2 separate regions of the Homo sapiens genome follow, and region 1 is linked to region 2. Evidence: promoter capture Hi-C in human tissues and cell types (Jung and others, 2019). All regions are on one chromosome and are shown on one strand. The core of a region is centred on a gene start or on the middle of the fragment in contact, and the rest is flanking DNA. Distances in the headings are between cores, read along the strand shown. Region 1 overlaps CSMD1 (CUB and Sushi multiple domains 1). Region 2 holds the start of CSMD1 (CUB and Sushi multiple domains 1).

Region 1 (4,806 bases), core at 85-2,584, 140 kb before region 2:
TTTTATAGTAGGGACTGGGTTTCACCATGCTGGCCAGGCTAGTCTCAGACTGCTGACCTCAGGTGATTCGGCCGTCTCAGCCTTCCAAAGTGCTGGGATTACAGGCGTGAGCCAACGCGCCCAACCCAGTACATAATACTTAATAATAATAAACAACTATGTTTCTGGTTTATAGTTTTACTATATTGTACTTTTTATTGTTGCTTTAGAAGGTACTTGTTCTACTTATAAAAGTATTAACTGTAAAACAGCCTCAGGCAGGTCCTTCAGGAAGTATTGGAGAATAAAGCGTTGTCATCCTAGGAGATGACAGCTCTACACCTGTTATAGTCCCTGAAGACCTTCTAGTGGGACAAAATTTGGTGGTAGAAGACAGTGATATGTATGATTCTGACCTTGTGTAAGTCTAGGCTAATGTGCGTTTGTGTCTTAGCTTTTAACAAAAACGTTTTCAAAAAGTAAAATAAAACAAAATTTCAAGCTAGAAAAAAGCTTGTAGAATAAAGCTATAAAGAAAGAAAATATTATTGTACACCTGTGCATGTGTTTCATATTTTAATGTGTTATTACAAAAGAGTCACATGTTTAAAAAATTAAAAGTTTATAAAGAAAAAAGTAATAAGGTGAAGTTAATTTAATAAACTGAAGTTAATTTTTTTCTTTATTCAATAGAATAAAGAAAAAAATACTTTTTGTAAGTTTGCTATACCCTCAGTGTACAACGGTTGTAAAGTCCACAATAGTGAACAGTAATCTCCTAGATCTCACGTTCAATTATAACTCACTCACCGACTCCTACAGAGCTACTTCCAGGTTGCAAACTCCATTTATGACAAGTACTCTATACAGGTGTAGCATTTTTCATCTTTTATACCATAATTTTAGTGACCTTTTCTATTTTTAAAAATGCTCTAATACACAAATACTTGATATTGTATTATAGTTGTCCATATTATTTAGTGCAGTAACATGCTGTACAGATTTGAAGCTTAGGGGCAACAGGCTATACCATACATCCTAGGTCTCTAGGAAGCTAAACCATCTTGGTTTTAGTAAGTGCACTCAATGATGTTCATACATTGATGAAATTGCCTAACAAAGCATTTCTCAGAATATTTCCTCATTGTTATGTAACATGTAACTGTATATGTTTTCATTGCTCATGGGTATATTAGAAATGGCATTTCTCGATTATATTATGATGCTATGTTTAAACATTTCAGGAATTACCAGACTCTTTGCTAATGTGGCTGAACTTTTTTCCATTCCCACCAGCAGCAGACATGCGGGTTCTAATTTCTCCACATCTGTGTTACGTACGTACTATACTTGGCTTTTTTTATTCTTGCCATCCTGGTGGGTGTGAAGTAGGATCTCATGGTGGTTTTGGATTGCATTCCCCTGATGCCTAATAACGTCAAAAATCTCTTTATGTGAATATTGGTATTTGTAAAATGTATATGAAGATCATTAACCTATTTTTTAACTGGGTTATCTGTCATTTTATTACTGAGCTCCAAGAGTACTTTCTATGTTCTAGATGCAAATCCTTTATCAGATACACAATCCCCAAACATTTTCTCCCATTCTACGGCTTGTGTTTTTACTGTCTTAATGGTCTCTTTGAAGAATAAATGTTTTTATTTTGATGAAATCCAATTTATCTTTTTTTTTTTTTTTTTTTTTTTGCTCTTGCCTTTAGTAAAAAACATCTTTACTCTTTTTTCATTGATTGCTCAGGAAGCTTCCTCTCCCTTCAGTCACATGACAATTGCAAACATTGGTTATTTTCCAAAATCTTCCATTTCCCTCCTTTGCACCACTCCTCCCCCAGCACTCTCTCCCAGGACTTCAGCGAAGTAGAAATCCTTCATCCTCTCTTCCTCATCACTTAGTCTCTTTCTTTTCTCTCTATGACTCTTCCATCAGAACAAAGTCCTTGCTCCTTACCCCCTTAGCTTTGTCTCTCTCTCTCTCTGGATGAAGTGCAGAGTGTCGTGAAGCAGTTGTGTGCACTCATTGTTCCAGTACCTCAATTTTCTTTCAACCCCAAACCTAGTGGCTTGCCTATTATTTTACCCAAACTGCCCTCAAAAATTCAACCAGTGGCATCCTTTTGCTGAATTCAATAAAGTATGTTTAGTCCTCATGTCACATGAACCTTTATGCATTGAAGATTGTTTCCCTTGCCCCCCCACTTTTTGTGGTTATTTTTTTATCCTTGTTAATTTCCTTTTTTTAATATATACACTTTGAGTTTTAGGGTACATGTGCACAAAGTGCAGGTTAGTTACATATGTATACATGTGCCATGTTGGTGTGCTGCACCCATTAACACATCATTTAGCATGAGGTATATCTCCTAATGTTATCCCTCCCCCCTCCCCACACCCCACAACAGTCCCCGGAGTGTGATATTCCCCTTCCTGTGTCCATGTGTTATTATTCAATTCCCACCTATGAGTGAAAATATGCAGTGTTTGGATTTTTGTCCTTGGCAATAGTTTGCTGAGAATGATGGTTTCCAGCTTCATCCATGTCCCTACAAAGGACATGAACTCATCATTTTTTATGACTGCATAGTATTCTATGGTGTATACATGCCAACTTTTCTCGCCCCCTTTTTAAGCTCCTTCTTTCACTGGCTTTCATGATCCCACCAATTCCTGCTTTTCCTTTTTTGTTTTTTTCCTGGCTGCATCTTCTTCGTCAATTTCTTAAATTCTTCCCTTGTCAACCTCTATTTTTTTTCTTTTTTGATATTTGAGTATTTCATCCATGGCGCTTCTCACTCCCCTATACATTCTCCAGGGTTGAGGTAGTCTACCCCCATAGGTTCAGAACCTATGACCTGTATCTTCAGTTGGCATTCAATAGCCTATCCAACTCCATGTGGGAGTTTCATAATAATCTATGGGATTACCTGACTTCTCAATGTCTCCTGCTCTCCCTCTCCTCACTAAGAGTCCCATTGTGTGGCATCGGCAATCACCCATATGACTAACAAGAACCTTAAGACTTCTTCTTCTTCAAAGACAGGTCTATTGAGATGAACGTACTTTTAAGTCACCCTCCCCTTTAACTTGTGTGATTAAATGTTTCCCAAGATAATTACAGAGTGAAGCCACCATCACTAAAATTAGATTTCAGAATATTTCTCACACCCCATAGAGAAAATTTATACTCATTTGCTATCACTCTTCATTCTCCCTCTGCCTTGTACACAGGCTGAGTAAACCACTAGTCTAAGTTTTTTCCCTATAGATTTAATCTCTCTCTGGACGCTTGATCTGTCACTAAGGTCTAACCTGTAATACCTCCTCAGCAGGGCTTAATGTGTATACTTCCTTACATCAGATTCCCTCTCTCTTTATATCTTTTACTTGTGAAACTGCTATTTTCTCCCAACTGGGAACACCATATATGTTTGTTTACTCTAATCTATTTTTGCCAGCATTGTTCTATAACAGTAAACATACTTATATGGTTTGGATATTTGTTGCCTCCAAATCTCAGGTTGAAATGTAATCCCTAGTTTTGGAGGTGGGGCCTTGTGGGAGGTGCTGGGGTTGTGGGAGCTGATCCCTCATAGATGGCTTCCTGCTATCCTTGCAACAGTGAGAGAGTTCTTGCAACATCTGGTTGTTTAAAAGTATGTGGCTCCTCTCCTCTCTCTCTCGTTCTCACTCTTGCTATGTGATGCACTGTCTGCCCCTTTCACTTCCAACATGATTGAATGCTTGATGAGGCCTCACCAGTTGAGGCCTCATCTACAGGTCAGCCAATTAAACCTCTTTCATTTATAAGTTACCTAGCCTTGGGTATTTCTACATGGAAATTCAAAAACAGCCTAATACAGAAAAATGGTACCAGGAGTGGGATGTTGCTATAAAGATACTTGAAAATATGGAAGTGGCTTTGGAACTAGGTAATGGGTAGAGATTGGAAGAGTTTGGAGGACTCAAAAGACGACAGGAAGATGAGGGAAAGTTTGGAGATCCTTAGAAACTGGTTAAGTGGTTATAACCAAAATGCTGATAGAAATGTGGACAGTGATGGGCAGGCTGATGAGGTCTTAGATGAAAATGAGGAACTTACTGGGAACTGGAGTGAAGGTCACCTATGTTAGGCCCTAGCAAAGAACTTGGTTGCATTGTTTTCAGGCCCTAGGAATCTGTGGAAGGTTGAGCTTAAGAATGATGAGAGGGTACATGGCAGAAGGAATTTCTAAGCAGCAATGCATTCATGATGTGGCCTGGCTGCTTATAACAGTCTACACTCAGATGCAGGCACATTAAATGACTTAAAGTTGGTACTTATATTTAAAAGGGAAGCAGAGCATAAACATTTGGAAAATTTGCAGCCTACCCATGTGGTAGAAAAGAAAAGCATGTTTTTAGTGGAAGAATCCAAGTGGGCTATGGAGCAAACACTTTCTAGAGAGATTTGCATGACTAAAAGGGACCCAGGTGCTGCTAGCCAAGACAATGGGATAAAGCCCTGGAATGCATTTCAGAGATCTATGAGGCAGCCCTTCCCATGACAGGCCCAGAGGTCTACAAAGAAAGAACAATTTTATGGGTGAGACTCAGGGCTCTGAAGCCAGGAATGCAAGGTGGCTGTTCCCTGCATCCCCACTGCTCCAGCTCTATCCATGGCTCAAAGTGCCACAGGTACAGCTCATATTGCTGCTTCAGAGGGTGCAATCCATAAGCTTGGCAGCTTCAACACAGTGTGATATTAAGCCTGCTAGTGCACAGAATGCAAGAATAAAGGAGGCTTGGCAGCTTCCACATAGATTTCAGA
Region 2 (4,823 bases), core at 1,150-3,649:
CAGGTGTTTCCTCTCCACGCAGGGGCTCGGCTGGAAAAAGCCAGGTCCTGTCCCTTGGGCTCCTGCCCTCACCCCGCTGCGACACACACGCCCCAGCACACCTCACAGGGCACAACCCTCTTTTCCCTAGACTTTAGCTGCCTCGCCTTCCAATTCCCAGCCAGTCCAGTGCTGACCAGAGGCCGCTGCCAGTCGGGCCCTGCTCAGCAGGCGCTGCCTCCGCAGCCGGCAATGTCAGAGGCACCGGCCAAGGCATCCGGACTGAGCCGGGCGGGTGGGCAGAGGGTCGGCGTCTGCAAGAAGCTCCCCAGTCCCGAGCGACCACGAGCTTGGGTGACTAAGACCCACTGTTTGCGATCCCCGAGATCTCGGGGCGCATTCCCGCAGACACCCCCTTGTGAGGGTGGATGCCGGTGAGGAGGAGCTGGTGCTGAGCGGTCAGCTTTCACGGAGCCCTGGACGCCCCGTGGAGGCAAGTGCAGGGAGGGGAAGCCCAGGCGGCACGTCTCTCCCCCGCTCTCCAGGCAGATCTGGAGTTTCCTAATGAACCAGATACAGTCCTCCTTCGCCCTGCCAATCACTCTTCCATCTGGACCACTGGAGGAAAAGGAAATGGGTGGAAAAGAAGATGGAAGAATCTAGAGAGGACGGGGAAATATTATGTAGGGAAAAAAGCAAGTGACCATTGAAAAAAAATCGTAAGATTGGACTCCAACCTTTAAAAATGAAACGAAAGAAAAACCCTTTGTAGATACAGATACTCCCGGGAACATCTATGGAAGTGCTGACTGATAAAGAAAGCATCTAAGGAGGCTAAAAATGAGGACAGGGGCAGGTATTTCCAATGTGAAAACCAATCAGTATTCTCTCTCTCTCTGTCTCTCTCCCTCTTTCTCGCCCTGTCTCAAAAGGGAGCTTATGTTCTTTCCCGGAGAATAAACAAGTACACAAGCTATTGCCAGCCTTGAGGTCGCAGCCTGTAGGCTACTTAGAAGAAAACATTCCCCAACTCATTCAGGGAGAAAACCAAGCTCACAGAGCCCCAAGCCCAGGAGCCACCCAGAGAAACTCCTTCCCCTGACCAGCGTAGAAGGAGGATACCCGTGCGCCCACAGTGAATGTATCTGACTTGGAAGCCGGTCCAGAACTCCTAGCCTGTTTCACGCACCTTGCCAACACCTTACAACTTGCAAGGAGCGAAGTCCGGGGGAGAGGAAAGCGGGGGCGACCTTCTAGAGGCAGCTACTCCTCGCCGGCTGAGGACGTTGGAGAGGGAAGGAGGAGAGGAGGAATGGGGTGTATGGGTGCGAGGAGGCCGGGCCGGCGGAGACCTTTGCCTATTGGTACCAAAACCCCCGTAGAGAGCCCGAACTTTCCAGGCCGGCTTCACCCGGGACGCTTTCCCAGGCGCGTCGGGTCCGGGGAGAAAGTCCTGGGAACTGCCCCTCAGCCACCCCGACCCGTGGAGTCCACGTCTCGGAGGAGGCAACACCGCCCCGGCGGAGCACAGTTCCAGCCCAACTCGTATTGGGTTCCTTTCTCCTTGACACCCTGTACTGCCGAGAAAAAGAGATCTCTCCTGTGAGCCCAAGAGAGGGGGAAGGAATGGCGGGGTGGGGCGGGGGCCCAGGAGGGCTGGGGAGAGCGCGATGGAAGCTCCCTCCCGTGCATCGCGTTCCCCGAGCTTCGGCGATGGAGCAGCGCCGGGCAGAGGCGGCCACTCCGTACCCTGCGGTCCCCAAAACGCACACTCGCGTCCGCACACGGGGCCTCCGAGGGCTCTACCGCCTCCCCGGCCAGGAGCAAGTCCGTCTTACCCTTCGCTGCAGTGAGGAGCCTCGCGCACAGCACCAGCAGCCCGAGAAGCAGGAGCAGCGACTGGAATCTCCTCCACGCAGTCATGTCTGCAGATACTCCACACGCACGCGACACCGATGGCTCCTCCGAGGAAGGCAGGGCTATGAGCGGAGCCAAATAATCACCCGAGGGCAAGGCGAGCCGGAGAGAGAGCCCGGTCCCAAGACCCGCCGCGCATCCGACGCCTCCTGAAGGTCTGGGCGCCCGGCTCGCTTCCCTCTCATAGCATCGGGTCCCGAGCCACTGCAGGGCTGAGCTGCTCCGAGCGCGGAGACCCGGGCTGGCGGGGCCGGGGCCGGGGACGAGCGCCGGCCGAGCCGGGCAGGAAGGCACCAAGGCGGCGAGGCTGCGGGAGGGGGAGAAGCGGGGAGAGGAGCGCGCGCAGCCAGGAGAGACCTGGAGAGGAGGCAGCTGGAGAGAGAGCCAGCGAGTGGGAGATGCGGGGAGGGGGGCGCGGGGGGGAGGAGAGATCCAGTCTAGAGAGAAAAGGCGGAGAGCGCAGAAGAAGGGCTGCTAGTGGCACAAGGAGCCGCTGCCGTGGAGGCTGGACTCAACCATCCTTACCCACAGAGAGGGGACCGAGGCTGGGCACGGCGCAGTCCCAGACAGACAGAGCCCAGCCTCGGGGCCTCGGGCTGCCCGCACCGTGCTGCGCTTCATTCGGCCTCAGCGCAGCAGCGCGCAGGCTGGAGAAAGGAGACTTGTTGGGCGCTCGGGTGGGGGAAGCTCACGCCGCACACCGGGGAGGAACAATGTAATCCGGCAACTCCAGCAAACTGGAGGGTTTCTGCAGGGGCAGAGTCCCGCCTCCATCCTTTGATCTCCCTTCCTTGCTGACCAGAGAGCAGCCCCCTACCTAACTTAGATCAGAAATGCAGGTGGAAAGGGCACAAGCTTCAACTCCAAGGGAGGAATATATTTATACATTTATATATATATATATATGATGATATGTATAATGTTTTGCAAGATGGACTATTTGCAAGGAGTTACACAAATTTACACATTTCCTGACTTTGGATTGTGTTAGATTTAGCCATGCCCAAACTTCAGCTTCAGATAAAACGTGACATGAGGAAGTCTCTAGAATTAATATTATGGTCTGGTTGTGAGAGCCGGCATGTTGGCACAGCTTCTGATGAAACTATATATAAAATTCTGTGGGTTGGGAAGGGACCTTAAAAGAGAAGAGACAGGTTCTCCCTGATTCTGCAAAAGGATGAAGCCCGCAGAGAGAGAACAGTGCTTTAGAATAGCAGTACTTGATACAGTAAACTGGATTTCACCCAGCTCCCCAAATAGAGGAGGCATTCCTGCAGTTCCTGGGGAACGTGTAAGGAGAGACATTTTAGGAGAAGGTGGTCAGTTAATAGAAACACCACGAGTGAGGGCTGGTTTCCATAGAAGGACATTTAAAGGATTCGACATCCTTGACCAAAAAGGTTTAGCCCTTTCAGAGGACAGAACGTGGAAATCCCATACCCTAGTAAGAGAGAATTAGCCTCCAGGCCTGGAACCATTAGAGTATACAACCATCTACCTGCGGTATCCCCACAGCACCGAATGCCTGTGGTGGGAGGGACAGCCCACCGCTTCATCCCACCTGCACTTCCTCTGTCAGTCTTTGAGATTAAATGGGTTGACAGTTTGATAAAGTTTTATATCCCTCCTTCAATTTTCTTAGATTGCTCCTGCCTCTGTGACCTAGTCTACCCTAGAAAGGCATAATGGATCCAGGAAGGACTGCAACCTTGGCATGGAAACACCGAAGCCTGACTTTCTTAGTCTCCCTGCAGCCTAAGGTGCAGGTGGCCACAATTGGGGCCACCTCCACAACCCTTTTCTCCTCGCAGATATATGAGATTTAAATATGGGGTGGGTGGGGAGGGAGAGAATGCGTGCTCTTGGAGTTGCAGTCCTGAACATGACTTGGATTTTCCTCAGCGCAGAGTCCCGTCTTGCCTCATGTATCCCTGGAGGGACACTCGGAAGACAGAATGCCTCAGTCACGGGGGAATTCCCATAGAACCCCTGAGTTCTATTCTTCAGGCTGAACCGGGCCTGTGGAGCAGAGGGTCGCCCCCTCTGGGATTTTAAATCAGACCTCAGATAGTATCTGTGAGTCAGCGAGTGAACAAAAATGCTTTCCAAGACCCATTAAGTGCTCCAATAGTTCATTTCAAGCGCCTCATCCGGAAAAACGGATCTCTTTTCAGGAGCTTAAGAGCTGACTTCTTCTTGAGAAACGGTGCCCTGTCTCTACACTGCCATTCCTAATGGCTCGTGTCACCAAGAAGGATTTCTGCCATTAAAAAACGTTTCCAACATCTAACCATCCTAGGCTAGGACTCATAGATGATTTTCACTTGATTAGGATCCCAATCAGGAACGACGGTGAGTGTCACCTGAGAGATGGAACACCTTTCCACATAATTGTGACAGGCTCCGGGCTGAACTTCCCTTTTCCTGTGTTCTGTTGAAAAACGTCCCATGCCACCTCCTTTCCCCAGAGAGCAAAGAATCTATCTGATACAAAGCCTTGAGAAATAATGGTCCAGATAACCAATAACCACTCATTTTTTTTGCTGTTATTTATGTGGGGTATTTTCTTTGGCCCGATCGTATATTAGAGAGTTACAATGATTCGTACCAAATTGTTTATTGATCATGATTATGAGAAGGGTATGAAACGGCTGACAAATAAAATAAGCTGGTTTTCTGATATGGTTGTATTTGTGTGTTTATACAGTGAATTTTTCGCCCAAGATCTCAAGGCTGGCTTAATTTGGAAGGAAAACATGGGGCTCTGCTGCCATCTAGCGTCCAATATTTCTTGTTTGGCGTTTGCAGAGAGATCAGTGGTCCCTCTGTTTTACTTCTCTGACCTCCTCTGCGGTTCCCTGCCTGCGTTTTGAATCTCCTCCAGAACACTCTTGTGCCCTCCTTGCGGTCCAGCTTGAGCCTAT

The links. The method cuts DNA at HindIII sites, captures the fragments that hold promoters and counts their contacts. A contact is called where the count stands out against the background at its distance.
Region 1: a contact is called between a fragment that was not itself captured here and the fragment with the promoter of CSMD1 in region 2, in 5 of the 25 tissues and cell types used here (H1 embryonic stem cells, aorta, dorsolateral prefrontal cortex and 2 more).

What each region holds. Positions count from the first base shown.
Region 1 is chr8:4,848,718-4,853,523 of GRCh38, forward strand. All of the region lies in intron 1 of CSMD1 (CUB and Sushi multiple domains 1), which reads right to left. Among named protein-coding and RNA genes, the nearest start is that of CSMD1, 140 kb to the right of the region's middle. The HindIII fragment of the contact is 3,790 bases long and covers 1-3,229 here.
Region 2 is chr8:4,992,515-4,997,337 of GRCh38, forward strand. CSMD1 (CUB and Sushi multiple domains 1) reads right to left here and starts at 2,400. Exons shown (of 70, transcript NM_033225.6): 1 at 1,818-2,400. The coding sequence starts at 1,902. The HindIII fragment of the contact is 12,651 bases long and covers 1-4,750 here.